2 separate regions of the Homo sapiens genome follow, and region 2 is linked to region 1. Evidence: promoter capture Hi-C in 16 types of primary human blood cells and fetal thymus (Javierre and others, 2016). All regions are on one chromosome and are shown on one strand. Each heading gives the region's core, a stretch centred on a gene start or on the middle of the fragment in contact. The rest is flanking DNA. Distances are from core to core; before and after follow the strand shown. Region 1 holds the start of HEATR5B (HEAT repeat containing 5B). Region 2 holds the start of HNRNPLL (heterogeneous nuclear ribonucleoprotein L like).

Region 1 (4,657 bases), core at 105-2,604:
GATAATTTGTTATGTAGCAAAAGTTATCAGGAAGTAGAACCTTATCAGGCACCTGGGAGCCCTCTTTGTCCCCTATCCAGTTGCAACTCTCTTTTGGTTCTAAGAATAGTCACTATTCTGTTTTTTATGGCAATCATTTCCTTCATTTTCTCGATAGTTTTGTCATCCACGTGTGCATCTTTAAACATTACAGTTTAGTTTACCTATTTTTATTATAAGTTAAAAACGTGCACTATTATATACAGCATTTATGGTAATTCACCCGCTTCCTCTAAACCTCAGATTCTTCATTGGTAATAACAGCATTTTTACACATAATGGTTTAACACTTACCCAGTATATCACACATTTTTATCACATTTAACCACCACTAACAACTCTACAAGGTAGGAAGAGTTTTTCCTGTTGGAGAAATTAAGGTTCAGTATGGCTAAATGACTATTTCAAAACCACAAAGAATCCGGGTCATAGTGCCTTGCAAATAGGATTACATTGTTTTTAAGAGACCTACTTAACTTTAAAGTGCCAGGCACATCTGAATGGGGTTACAGGTTGCTTTTAAAGCTCTCTTTCTATTGGTAAAATATACTTTAGCATTATCCATTTCCATCAAAGATAAGCATAAACTTCACAAGGCGATACCCTGGCAGAGATGATGGAGGCTCGTACCAGAGTGATAGCAATGCAAGTGGTCGCATTTGGGGTACACTTGAAGGTAGAGCTTACAGGATTTGCTGATGTTGTAGGTAGTACGTAAAGAACGATGTCAAGATAACGCTAAGTTTTTGGCCTGAATACATGGAAGAACGGAGTTAACGTTTTTTGAGAGTGGGAAGACTGTAGGAGTAGGTTTGTTTTTGTTTTTTTAGGGGGCGTAGTCGGGAAACAGACATATTGAGAGTCCCATTACATATACAAGTGGAGAAATGGACCTACAGTATAAATGTGACAAGAAACGTCCCACTCTCAATACTACGCTCAGGAACCGCTGATCCCTTCCCTCACGCGTTCCTCCTGGCTGCAAGCGTCCCACAGACGCAACCACCCACGGATGGAAAAGTGGCTGACGGTGTGATACGGTAGTCATGGCCAGCGCACTCTGCCTTTTATCATTCTACCGGTTGTCCCCAGACCCTTACCTGACAGCTCTCTTACCTGACAGCTCTCTGCTCGCCCCGGTTCAGCGCCGTAGAGCGCGCGCTGCGCATGCGCCCACCGACCAGCGTCGGACTTCCGGACCTCGGCTCCCACCAGTTTCCTAGTGCAGACTCTATTGGAAATTCGCGGCGGGTGGGGATAGGAGGACGTGGTGACTGCGCTTGCGCAAGACCAGCCCTCCGCGCAAGCGCTCTTCCCTTGTTTCCTGCAGGTAGGAGTGCGGGAGGTGGGGCATCCGGGTCTCTTGGTGGCTGCTTCTACCCCCGGAGCTCAGCTGATCTTCCCTTCCAGACTACGAGGTGAGGTCGCCGAAGCATGCATGTTGACACGCACGGACTCCTGTCCGACGTACATTTTCAGACGGGTGGGGAAGACATTTGAGTTCGTAATGAACATTTTCCCTTTTCTGGCTCCGTGCTTAGTTCCGAGCTGCCGCCTCGTGCTATTGACAGCCTGCGGAACCCCACGGAGGCTTGCGGCGGCCTCTTGGTGTTTCCCCGGGTCCGCCGCTTGCGGTTCTTGGAGTAGCCAGGTGAAGCCAGACCCCGAGCGCGCGAGGCTTCTCGGGTGCATTCCGGACCGCCTGGTGTTGTCACTGACGCTTCGGCCGCCGGGCCTGGCCGCCCCACCCATCCGCGTAGGAAGAGTCTTGGAGACCTGCAGTTCGGGATGTCTGTGCTGGGTGTTTTGACCTCAGTCCCTCTGGCCAGGTGCAGCGCGGGAGGGTAAAGGTGCTATGTACCGAACCCTGGACGAGAAAAAGAGGAGGATGGTTGTCAAGCCCGGCTGGGGTGTTTGATCTTAGTGCTTCAGTTTTTTCATTTATAGAACGGGTAAATGACATATGTGTTGCTGGACATATTTCTTCTGGAATAATGCCTTTTTTGGCAATAATTTCTTTTAATTTTCTTTTCACTCCATGAGTCACTCTTCCTTACCAAGTAGTTTTCTTCTGTTTTTGTTTGTATTTTTGTCATTTAAAAGTATGTTCTCAGGTTTTGCCTCAAAGAAGTTGAGTTTTTCCCCAAATGAAATGAGTAGTCCTACTTTTCTTAGTGAGTATATTCCATTAAGCTTGACTTTTAACATTAAAAAATACTTACAAGTATTTTTTACTCTGTTAAATTTAAGGTGTGAATTTCAAACTTCCGTAATGGAGTTAGCCCACAGTTTATTGCTAAATGAAGAAGCTTTGGCTCAAATCACCGAAGCAAAAAGACCAGTTTTCATCTTTGAATGGTTGCGATTTCTTGATAAAGTCTTGGTTGCTGCCAACAAGGTATGGTATTGCTCTTTTTTCCCAGTTGCATTAACGTGAAGAGATTATGTGGTCATGATTCTTAAGAAAACACATGTTATGTTTTGGAAGGTTTATGGGTCACTTATGGAACTTGAGAGTATTACACGAATGGGAAATTTAGTGGCAAAACTCAAACCTCGTTTAAATCCAGCTCATTGCCTATCTTCTTTATGTTTGTACCTGGGCAGCTCATTGTAACTGGAGAAAAACATGGCTATATGACTGGTGTCACTTTAAATTTATCATCGTCACCCGTTGCAAGTGATCTCTCTATGCTGCCTAACAATCCCAGTGTCTTCACTTATCTCTTTGAGGAGTCAATAATAGGCTCTTTTTTTTTTTTAATCTGTTTTTTCTTCCTGCATAGCCTTGATTTGCCGAGACCAGCTCGTTTGGGGAGACCCTAACCTAGCGGCGCTAGAGGAATTAAAGACACACACAGAAATATAGAGGTGTAAAGTGGGAAATCAGGGGTCTCACAGGCTTCAGAGCTGAGACCCCGGAACAGAGATTTACTCAAGTGTCTATTAACAGCAAGCCAGCCATTAACATTGTTTCTACAGATATTCGATTAGCTAAAAGTATCCCTTATGGGAAACGAAGGGGTATGCTGAAACAAAGGGGTGGGTCTGGCTAGTTCTGTGCAGCAGGAACATGCCCTTAAGGCGCAGATCGCTCATGGTATTGTTTGTGGTTTAAGAGCGCCTTTAAGCGGTTTTCAGGCCAGGTGTTCCTTGCCCTCATTCGGGTTTCGTTATGGCCATCATGAACATGTCACAGTGCTGCAGAGATTTTATTTATGGCCAGTTTTGGAGCCAGTTCCCAACATTGATTCAACTTACTTTTTATTGTCTGTGTATTTTATATTCTGTCTTTAAAAGTAGATATGGCCCGGCATGGTGGTTCACGCCTGTAATCCCAGCACGTTGGGAAGCTGAGGTGGGTGGATCACCTGAGGTCAGGAGTTCCAGACTAGCCTGGCCAACATGGTGAAACCCCGTTTCTACTAAACACTGCTAAAAGTACGAAAATTAGCCAGGCGTGGTCGTGGGCGCCTGTAATCCCAGCTACTGGGGAGGCTGAGGCAGGAGAATCGCTTGAGCCGGAAAGGCAGAGGTTGCAAGGAGCCGAGATCGCACTAATGCACTCCAGCCCGGGGGACAAGAGTGAAACTCCATCTGAAAAAAAAAAAAAAAAAAAAAAAAAAAAAAAAAAGTAGATACTTCCCTCAAATGTCTGATGATCTTTGGCTGCCTGATCAAATTTAAAAGTGAGTAGTAAAAACTTTTCTCAGCAGGGCCAGTCTTTTAAACTGGACTTCACTGTAGGCTAGTTTGGTCCCTGACCTTAGTATTTTAGGTTTCTGTAGGCTAGTCATTCCCCAGAAGATACTTTTCTACTGTCGTGTCTGAAGAGTATATAGCTAGCTGGCTACATTCTTGGAGTTGTGGGAGAAGACTGGGGACTTTAAAGTTCAGTATGTGAACTTTCACTGCATCTCCCCATTTTCAGTGCAGTTTTCCCAGACCGCAACTGTGCCTGGACTCTTCTAGTCTGGACATACAATATTTCACTCTTCCCAGAGAATAAACTTTCAGTCTGCTTCCATAATGAAGAAGAGGATTCTTTCTGCTTATTAGACTCTCAACCATTCCCTCTATCTCAAGGTACATACAACTTCACTCCCACCTCCAAAAGCACCTAGGGCTTAAAAAAACCGTGATCTCTTAGGGGGTCCTGTGTTGTAAGTTAGGTCATTTTGCAGCTTTCCCTGTTGGGAACAGTTGGTTTCCAAATACTGTGTTGATTCTTTCTCCTGTTTTCTTTACCCTTTGGATTTGTGCTTTGTTGTTATTGTTCCTGTTGTTGTTGCTACCCTTTAGTATGGTTTTAATGGAATTTCTATAGAAACAGTCAATGCATGACCTAATGTAAATGACGAGTTAATGGGTGCAGCACACCAACATGGCACATGTATACATATGTAGCAAACCTGCACATTGTGCACATGTACCCTAGAACTTGAAGTATAAAAAAAAAACAATGCATGGATTCACTTGTAATTGTCAACTAGACGTTTCTGTTTTCTCTTAAATCCTCTACAACTGGGGATTTACTTCCACTCCACTGAAACAGCACTTGTCCAGCCATTACTGATGACAGATTGCCCAGAACAGTGGTCAGTATTCTGTCTTATTT
Region 2 (4,650 bases), core at 881-3,380, 1.5 Mb before region 1:
TATGAAAATGTACATAAAACAAAATTAACAGGTAGTTGCTCATACTTAACAAAAAGATATTTAGTGCTTCTCATCACACTCAATTATTTCACATAATATTCTATTGTTTTCTTTCTCCTAAAAAATAATTGTTTTAAGCTCTCAGCTCTTCTCTTTTAATTTGAGCAAACTAAAAATATCTTGAGAATGGCCCATCTCACCTCATCAAAGAAGTTTCCTTTGTATCAAGTTTATTAATTCACTCATCCTTTCCTGATCTTTGATACTGAGACTGCTATAAAAAGGACAATGGATGCTAAAGATAACACGTGAAGTAGGTTTGTTAGACCTTTTTTTTGACCCTTGGTATCTTCAGCTTTCTGAAGGCCAGGTAATGTCTGCATTCTGAATATGTTAGGGGACATATGAATCCATAGGACATATTTTAAGCAGAATTGTATCATTGTTTCCCTTGTTGCTATTTTACTTTCCCAAACCATTGCAGAGCTTTTTGCCAATGACATTTTCTCATCCGCAGCCAGCTCTGCCACTCTTTTGCTATTTCTTCTGTCGACTTCCATTTTAATTTAAAAAATAAATTTATAATTTTTTTAGTTCTGTTTTGTCAATGTATACCTGCAGCCGCACACACATTTGATTATAGCTGCATAGTGTGGAAAATCTTGCAATTAGATTCCAAAATGACAGCCGGTGTAATTTACAAAGTACAAAAGTGTTATGTTAAAGCACTCTCAGCAATAAATAAAAATAGCTTTTTTGGAGGAGGAAATAACTTTGGAGAGAACTAGGCTGGAGGAGGAAGCAATCTACACTCTTAGGAAAGGAAGAGCCACATCTAGGAAAGCATCCGAGGGACAAGGACAACAGAAACACAAGAGGCTCTTGATCTCAGGCAGTCCTCCAAGAGGCACCTGACAGAGGGCAGTTAGGTTGCCTTGATTTGCCAGTTTCTGTCCTGAAAGATACACTGGACCTTTATTTCCCAAGGACTACTCATTCAGCATTGTTGAGCACCTAAATTGTGCTGGAGATCGCACAGGAACTGGGCTTGCGAAAATGAAAATTGCACACAGTTCCTGTCTTCAGGCGCTCACAGAGTTTTTAAAACAGAACATCTTAAGAGGGAGTTATAAGGGGCCCTGTTGCAAAAAGAGAGCAGCAACTAAAATCTTGGAAAAGCCCTCAGGACACCACAGAGGAAGCAAGCTGTGATCACAGAACTTTGAAAGGCTTTTGTATCTTTCGACAATAAATGATCAAGTGAAGTAAATACATTGTCCAGAAGAGAAAGAATTGGGATGGAGGATGAGATTTTATATGGAAGGATTAAAACATATTTAACTGGAGCAGGGACTTACAGGGACAGGCAAGTCAGTAAAGGGCCCAGGTTACAAACGAGTTATAACCGATCAGACCGACGAGCGCCCGCGTGCAGCGCCTCCTGCCGACGCGCGCCTCGCAGCCTTCAGTCAATGCTGACAGCTGTTCTCCAACACCCAGCTAGGGGCGGGAGGGTCCGCCCACTTCTACCAGATTTTGCACACAAAACAGTGGAAAGACCATTCTCATGGCTCCAAGCCGTTTTCTCCCTTCATCGCCTGCAATTTTAGGGCTTTTCGGGGGGTATGACTGCAGGGATTTTAGAGGTTTTTTTCCTCATTCTCTTTTTAAGAGGTGATAAAAAGCATTTAAATTAGCGGCAGGGCGGTTAACACCCGCAGCCCTAGCCTCTCCGCACTTCTCGTCGCTCGTCCGTGTTCACTCCACGCCTGGCCTCGGGTAGGAGCCGCATAGCGCCAACGGTTGCGGGTCGCAACTACTCCCAGGCGGCGCGCCTTGCGCGCCGGGCCTCCCAGGACCGCGGCGAGTTCAGAAGGCGCGGGGAGAGAAGTGAGGTCGAGCAGCGGGCGGCTTTTGACGAACGGCCCTCACAGCCAATGGGAAGCCCGGTCGACTTTCCCGCCCCTGCCAATAGGGAGCAGAACCCGGGCCGGGGGGGGCGCTTCCCGCAGGCTGCGGCTGGATTCGATCCTGCGCGACGGCCGCGAAGGCGGGGGCGGAGGCTCGGCCTGCGCGGCTGGGAGCGGCTTAGGGGAGGAGGGAAGACCGGAAGCCACGGTTGCGTCCCCATCCTTAGATTCGCTCCTCCGGGCAGGGAGCGGAGACGGAGGAGGAGGAGGGAGAGGCTGAATGTTGGCTCGGTAATTGAGAGGAGCGGCCGCTCCAGAGCTTCCTCCCGGGGCGCCCCCCTCAGTCCGTCCGCGCTTCTCAGCCGCCAGTCTCCTGGCCGCGCAGTCCCCGCGGACGGCCGGGCCGCGGAGACCCTCGCAGAAGAGGCGCTGCCGGCGGCGAGGACTGGCCGGCGGCATCCGAGGCGCGCGCCCCACCGCCACCCCCACCCGCCTGCCAGCCGGTCCCTCCGGCCGCCGCCATGTCCTCCTCCTCTTCCTCCCCCAGGGAGACGTACGAGGAGGACCGGGAGTACGAGAGCCAGGCCAAGCGTCTCAAGACCGAGGAGGGGGAGATCGACTACTCGGCCGAGGAAGGCGAGAACCGCCGGGAAGCGACGCCCCGGGGCGGGGGCGATGGCGGCGGCGGCGGCCGGAGCTTCTCTCAGCCGGTAACAAAGCGCGGCCCCCCTGTCCGCTGTGCCTGGCTGCTCCCCGGGAAGCAGGGCCTCGGTGCGGGGCCTCCCGCTTGCTTCAGTTAGCCTTTTCCGCTGCGCCGACCCGTTTGGGGAAGCGCCCACTCTTCTCTTTGGGGCTCGTATTCTGGCCTCTACCTGTTTCCCGCATCCCGACTGCGAACCCGGCGCCGTCCTGGCCGCAGGCCCCGCAGCGAGTCCACTGCCGGGCCCTGAACTTGGGGAGGGTCGCGGCGCGGCGGCGGCGGCGGGGAGGCGTCGCTTCCGCTCTGGGGGGTTTCGCGGCTCGGGGAGCTCTTTGTTAGTTTAACTCCTCGGGCTCGGGGCCAGCGTCGGGACCACCGGTTCTCTTCAGTCCCTCTGCCCGCAGCAGCCGCGCGTTGGTCACCATCCCGGGATGGTTGCGTCGGTTCTACCGGGAGCTCTCTCCGCCTCGGTCCTATGGAGACCCGTAATTAAATAACAGATTATGCCTTGGCGTTCACATGCTAGTTCCCTTGAAGGTTTAATTTAAAAAATTTTAAAATTAAACTCTTTATAAGCATGGCGTGCATCCTTTGCTCTACCCAATTTTGTGGATTACTCAGTACACTTTTTACCTCTTCGGTTACAACACTTCAACAGAAGTGTTGGCAGCTGTTGGTACACCCCTACCTTCAAGTAAAACAAATCTTAAAATTACTAAAGTTTTTCATTGGTAATTTATTCCACATTTGCCCCATGAAAGGATGAAGTGAGCTCAGGGTTGCATTAAACACACATTCCTAGAGCCAGGTCTTTCTCTTACCAGAAATGTTAGGGGGAGGCAGAAGGAATGTGATCATTTTGTCCACAGCAAGTAGTTAGCTTCAGTTGGATGGAGACTTTAAGGAAACAAAGCGGAGCAAACGTTATTGCCCTTTTTTGGTGCACTTAAGCGGTTTTAATGACTTAGATGTTATTTAAACATTTAACACATGAATTGTGATTAATTCTGCAAACTTTAACAGAATTACGAAACTGTACACATATATCCTACTATTAGGTTAAAAGGGTTTTTACCTTACCTTTTAAAAATAAGACGCACATTAGAAGCCCTTTATAGCCGTTTGAATTTTTAAATAATAAAAAAAAAGGCTGGTCAGTCACCCAGCGTTGCAGTTTCCAGTTACCAGGATGTGAGAGCAAACTTTGCAACACATTTAAAAAAGGAACTTTTTCTCTCAGTCTTGTTACGGTGTTAGCTATTACTTTAGATTTTTGTGCCGAGCTATTTGAAATATTCAAAATGTAACTTGGAAGTGTGAATAAAGGAAATGGTTTTTTCTTAGGAAGTTTCAGTTCAAAGCCAACTCTGTTGTGGAAATTGGAAACAGGAATATTATAACTGATATTTCGATGTATTCGATCAGTGTACCTCGTTGCTAGAAATCTTGCTTGGGTTTTTGTGCAGCATCATGAAATGTCTTCAGGCATTTTGGAAAGATACTTAAATCAGATTATAAAAATTTGTTTTTGAAAACAGATAAAGCATTAAATCAATAGTATTATTTTGGATGTTGGGAAGAAAATAACATATAATTAATGTATCCAAAGCGAAATGTGTGGAGCGGTGGAAATGGCACTGAGTAGGGCTTGGGGGTGGTCAAGAGTCTAGGCTTAGCATACAATTTTTTTTTTTTTTTGAGAGGATCTCACTCTATGGCCCGGGGCTGGAGTGCAGCAGCTCTGGAGTGCAGCAGCTCGTGATCACGGCTCACTGCAGCCTTGATCTCCCTGTCTCAAGCGATCCTCCTACCTCAGCCTCCCGGGTTGCTGGGACTGGAAGCCTGCATCACCACGCCGGGCCAATTTTTTTTTTCTGTGTTTTGTAGAGAAGGGGTTTCACCATATTGCCAAAGCTAGTCTCTTAACTCCTGGGCTCAAGAGATCCACCTGAGTTGGCCTCCCAAAGTGCTGGGATTACAGCCGTGAGCCACCGCACCTGGTCTTAGCATACAATTTGTGTGAGTCTGAGAAAGTCAGTT

The links. The method cuts DNA at HindIII sites, captures the fragments that hold promoters and counts their contacts. A CHiCAGO score of 5 or more calls a contact.
Region 2: the fragment with the promoter of HNRNPLL here is called in contact with the fragment with the promoter of HEATR5B in region 1 in 4 of 17 cell types (monocytes, neutrophils, naive B cells and 1 more); the score reaches 9.8 in monocytes.

Annotation. Positions count from the first base shown.
Region 1 is chr2:37,081,069-37,085,725 of GRCh38, reverse strand. HEATR5B (HEAT repeat containing 5B) reads left to right here and starts at 1,354. Exons shown (of 36, transcript NM_019024.3): 1 at 1,354-1,457; 2 at 2,290-2,437. The coding sequence starts at 2,312. It overlaps GPATCH11 (G-patch domain containing 11), which reads right to left and starts at 1,208. Exons shown (of 9, transcript NM_174931.4): 1 at 1,156-1,208. RefSeq lists enhancers at 1,117-1,276, 1,747-1,846. The HindIII fragment of the contact is 3,413 bases long and covers 1-2,234 here.
Region 2 is chr2:38,600,408-38,605,057 of GRCh38, reverse strand. HNRNPLL (heterogeneous nuclear ribonucleoprotein L like) reads left to right here and starts at 2,130. Exons shown (of 13, transcript NM_138394.4): 1 at 2,130-2,620. The coding sequence starts at 2,432. RefSeq lists silencers at 1,951-2,020, 2,241-2,290, 2,311-2,410. The HindIII fragment of the contact is 8,602 bases long and covers 1-4,650 here.